Regions from separate parts of the Homo sapiens genome. Here region 1 is linked to region 2. The links are contacts of gene promoters, found by promoter capture Hi-C in human tissues and cell types (Jung and others, 2019). All regions are on one chromosome and are shown on one strand. Each heading gives the region's core, a stretch centred on a gene start or on the middle of the fragment in contact. The rest is flanking DNA. Distances are from core to core; before and after follow the strand shown.

Region 1 (2,700 bases), core at 151-2,650, 170 kb before region 2:
GTACAAAAACAGACACATAGACCAATGGAACAGAATGGTGAACCCAGAAATAAAGCCACACACCTACATCCATCTGATTTTTGACAAAGTCGACAATAACAAGCAGTGGGAAAGGCACTCCCCACTCAATAAATGGTGCTAGGATAACTTGCTAGCCACATGCAGAAGATTAAAACAGACCCCTTCCTTTCACCATCTACCAAAATCAACTCAAGTTAGATTAAAGACTTAAATGGAAAACCTAAAACTATAAAAACCCTAGAAGGAAACCTAGGAAACACCATTCTGGACATAGACCCTGGAAAAGATTTAATTATGAAGACTCCAAAAACAATTGCAACAAAAATAAAAATTGACAAGTAGGACCTAATAAAAACTAAAGAGCTTCTGCACAGCAGAAGAAACTATCAACAGAGTAAACAGACAACTTAAAGAATGGGAGAAAATATTTGCAAACTACACTTCTGAAAAAAGTCTAATATCCAGAATCTATAAGGAACTTGAATCAACAAGCAAAAAGCGAAAAAAAAAAAAAACATTAAAAAGTGGGCAAAGGACATGAACAGACACCTATCAAAAGATATATACACCACCAATAAACGTATGAAAATATGCTCAACATTACTCATCATCAGAGAGAAATGCAAATCAAAACCACAATGAGTTAACATCTCACACCATTCAGAATGGCTATTATTAAAAAGTCAAAAAACAATAGATGCTGGTGAGGCTGTGGAGAAAAGGGAACACTTATATACTGTTGGTGTAAATGTAAATTACTTCACCCACTGTGAAAAGCTGTTTGGAGATTTCTCAAAGAACTTAAAACAGAACTACCACTTGACCCAGCAATCCCATTACTGGGTATATACCCAAGGAATATAAATTATTCTACCAAAAAGACACATTCATGTATATGTTCATCATAGCACTATTCACAATAGGAAAGACATGGAATCAACCTAGACTCCCATCAATGGTAGATTGGATAAGGCAAATGTGGTATGTATATTCCACGGAATCTGATGCAACTATAAAAAAAAAGAAATCATGTCATTTGCAGAAACATGGATGCAGCTCAAGACCATTATCCTAAGGGAATTAATGCAGGAATAGAAAACGAAATACTACATGTTCTCACTTATAAGTGGGAGCTAAACATTGAATACACATGGACAGAAAGAAGGGAACAGATACCAGGGCCTACTTGAGGGTGGAAGGTAGAAGGAGGGTGAGTATCGAAAAACTACCTATTGGATACAATATTTGCTACCTGGGTGATAAAATAATTTGTACACTAAGCCCCAGAGACATGAAATTTACCCATGTAACAAGCCTGCAGAAGTAACTCCTGAACCTAAAATAAAACTTGGAAGGAACAAAACAACAAAAATTAGTAGTTTCTATACACAGTGAGCTAGCTAAAAAAGAAATCAAGGAGGCAATCCCATTTACCATAGCTATACTAAAAATAAAATACCTAGGAATAAATTTAACCAAGGAGGTAAAAGACTTCTACAAGGAAAACTATGAAACACTGAGGAAAGAAAGAAGATAAAAACAAATGGAAAGATAGACCATATTCATGAATTGTAAGAATTAATATTTTTAAAACATCCATACTACCCAATGCAGTCTACAGATTCAATCCAATTCCCACTAAAACTCCAATGTCATTTTTCACAGAAATAGAAAAAATAATCCTAAAACCCATATGGAACCATAAAATACCCCAAACAGCCAAAGCAATCTCGAGCAAAAAGAACAAAGCTAGATGCATCACAACTCCCTGGTTTCAAATTATGTTATAAAGCTATTGTAATAAAAACAGCATGGCACTGGCACAAAGACACATAAACCAATGGAACAGGTAGACAACCCAGTAATAAACCCAAGTATTCAGTATTTATAATTAGTTGATATTTGACAAAGATGCCAAAAACACAAAAGGGAAAGAACAGACTCTTTAATAAATGATGTTGGGAAAAATAGATATGGCCCAGAAGATAAAATTGGACACTTATCTCACACCATACACAAAAATCATCTCAAAATGTATAAAAGACTTATATGTAAGATGTGGAAATGTGGAATTGTAAAGTTAATAGAGGAAAACATAAGGGAAAATCTCCACAATACTGGTCTATGCAATGATTTCTTGGATAGGACTCCAAAAATGCAGGCACGAAAAGCAAAAATAAGACAAATGGAGTTGCATCAAATCAAAAGCTTCTGTACAGAAAAGGAAACAATGAACAGAGTGAAGAGACAAAACATGAACTGGAAGAAAATATCTGCAAACCATACAGCTGATAAGGGGCTAATATTCAAAATATATAAGGTACACAAACAACCCAAAAGCAAGAAAACAAATAACCTAATTTTAAAATGGGCAAAGGAACTGAACAGACATGGCTCAAAGGAAGACATATGAAAGGCCAATAGATATACTAAAAATACTCAATATCTCTGATCATCAGAGAAATGCAAATTGAAACCACAATATGATATCATTTCATGCCTGTTACAAGGGCTATTATCAAAAAGAAGAATGATACGTGTTGGCAAGGATGTGGAGAAAAGGGAACCCTTGTACACTATTTGTGGGAATATAAATTAGTACAGCCATTTTAGAAAGTAGTATGGAGGTTCCCAATAAAACTAAAAATAGAATTACCATATGGTCCAGCAATCCTACTT
Region 2 (2,700 bases), core at 193-2,692:
CAACTTCCAGCCTCCAGAACTGTATGAGAAAATACATTTCTGTTGTTTAAGCCACTGTCTATGGTACTTTGTTATGACAGCCAAAGCTAAGACAAAACTCATAGAAAAAAACTTCCAGAAAATGATTTTCCCTCCCTCCAGGTAGCTAAGAAAACAGTTGCAACTTCTTGCCCTCATAGCACTTCTCATTTTCCCAGTTCTTGTATCCACTGGCTTGCTCAGTGTCTGTCTCCCGCAGGTGTCATGTCTGCAGAGGGCCTGGGGAGCAGAGATGTTGCTTATCTTGTTCATGCTGCAGCTTCACCTGCAACAGTGCTTGGGCCATAGCAAGCACTTGGTATGTTCAGTTGTTGTTGGGAAGGGGTAGAACAAGGAGAGGCCAAGATCCAGAAGTAAAAGGCTGATACCTCCCTCAAGGCAGTAGCCAGCAGCTGGGACTTCAATCCTAATGGGGGAGGCAGCTGAACTCCAGAGGCCTGTGCCCTCCCTTCCTTTCCTCCCTGGCCTGGTATCCTGACTTAAACCTCTTTCCCTATCAAACTTTAAAACTGGGGGCAGAAGCGGATCTTAGAGATAATCAAATGCAAAACCTTTGTTTTACAGATAAGGAATCTGACATTCAAGGAGGTATTCAGTAGAGTTAACATGTAGTAAAATCGAGTTTTCCTCTTTTGTTTCCTTAGTCCTGAAAGATGCTGATGCCTGGCATGATGCCTGGCAAAAGACTTACCTTCCTTTCCATGACTTCTGTACCAAATTTGTCAGTTGAAGCTTATCTATTTCTGCTATCTTGAGAGTGAGAATTCTTGATTGAGACTGCAAATAAGTAAGCACCCACCACATGCAATTCCGGACTGAGTACACAGAAAGGATAGCCAGTTCTTGACTCAGAAGATGCATTAGTGTGACTGATGCCTAAGGAATTTGTCCTAAATCTTGTTTTAAAAGTATTTCCATTAGCTTTTTAAAACGTACTATTAAATGCCACAACCCCCTACCCTTACTATGCTTGTTTTTCAAAATAGTGCTTTTTACTAGACAAACCCTAAAAAAGCACTTGGAAACTTAATGATGAGAAATGGCCCTTACAAAAATAGCTGGCTTCCTCTGGGTCCAAATGCTGTTGATTAGGACCAGGGCAAATGCCCATTGTACTCAATCTTCCTGACAACTCATTATTCCATACTGAAGAAATGGCTTCTCGAAGCAAAACCTGCTCTTTCAAGATCATAAAATTCCCCATATCATTTGAGTTAAAATGAAACTAAGCCATTTGAGTTAGATTACCCAGATTTATATCTTTAGCTATTAAAAACTGACAGGCAAGCTAGGCAGTTATGGATACATCTTCTGGTAACTGAGGATTATTTGCCAAGGTCTCTTACCTGCAAGACTGTAAACATGCATGTTGCTCCTATCCAGACAAAAGCTTTAGTAGGATACTAGTGGCCTGTTAGCTGCCAAAGTCACCTCACTGCTCCCGATAAAATCTCTGCACATCCTCTTTGATGTAATCCACAGATGCCTAACCCAGCCTAACAACTAAATTACTCACAAGCCTTTCCTGCCACAAATCTTCTTAAGTATTCCTTGAAGTCTAATTTGTATCATTTTCAAACCTACATTCTAGTATTTTCTCTCAAATTGCCAACACATAGTTAACGGCAGAAAAACATAGTATTTTTGTTGATTAGTTCAAGATGACAGACATTCCACAACAGAAGATAGCATTTTTAATGAAAGAAAAAAATGTGGCAGGACCGGAAATAAGCCAATAACCTACTAACCTTATTAAATCTCTCATGTTATGGTGAGAAAACAACTGAAGACTGTTCAGCTAATAATAGAAACCCATCAAAAACAGTACCTTCTGGTCAATCCCCTCCCAAGCCACTGTTCTGAACCTAACAAATAGTGCTTTCTGTCTCAGATAGGAGCTACTTCTTTATCTGAAAACTTAATACTGCAGGGAGTGCTCAGTGGGGAGAGCATTTGGAAGGGGATATTGCAGAAAGGAGAGGAAGGTATTGCTGACAGCAAGGCAAAAGGTAGAGACCAAATGGCAATTATCAGAGGGTCCTCAGCCCTTCTACCCATATTAATCACATGGCTTTCCTTATCTCTCCATCATAGATGAAAACACAAGTTGGGAATGTGATACATTTGTGTTTTGAGTACAGCATATTTTGTGAAAAGCACTTGATTTCAATAAGATTTTCATTTTTAACTCACTTTTAAGAACTTTCAATACATAACCAGCTATGAAATGACATCTCTGGCAGCTGTAGTAGCAAAAAGCACTGGACTTCTAGGGAAGTAGGGAGTAGGGAAGTTCTAGGCTGGAGTCCCAGCTCTGGCAGTGAGCAAATCTTGGTCACTGCTTGTCTGAAAAATGGGGGGAAATGGGGATAACACCTGCATCCTTGGGCTGCTGTAAGCATTCATTACGCATGTGAATGACCATTGTAAACTGCTGCAGGAGTGCCAAGGACTTCTATTTACAAACATTGGCCTGGAGATTTAGGGTTTTTCTTCCAATACACTTCAAAATTTATAACTTTAATATGCTATCTGAAAAGCATATAGTAGGAAGAATCCAAAGTAACTGAACAGTTTCATTCAAGACTCCAGTAAAAGGACGAATTGTAACATGGCTTTTCTTAGAACAGAGACAGCCTATCATCATTGGAAATCTTCTCA

The links. The method cuts DNA at HindIII sites, captures the fragments that hold promoters and counts their contacts. A contact is called where the count stands out against the background at its distance.
Region 1: a contact is called between a fragment that was not itself captured here and the fragment with the promoter of MPP4 in region 2, in 1 of the 25 tissues and cell types used here (mesenchymal stem cells).

Annotation. Positions count from the first base shown.
Region 1 is chr2:201,527,547-201,530,246 of GRCh38, forward strand. All of the region lies in intron 13 of CATSPERT (catsper channel auxiliary subunit tau), which reads right to left. Among named protein-coding and RNA genes, the nearest start is that of STRADB, 77 kb to the left of the region's middle. The HindIII fragment of the contact is 6,823 bases long and covers 1-2,700 here.
Region 2 is chr2:201,697,202-201,699,901 of GRCh38, forward strand. It overlaps MPP4 (MAGUK p55 scaffold protein 4), which reads right to left and starts at 1,443. Exons shown (of 22, transcript NM_033066.3): 1 at 1,386-1,443. RefSeq lists enhancers at 2,073-2,574, 2,575-2,700. The HindIII fragment of the contact is 2,902 bases long and covers 1,101-2,700 here.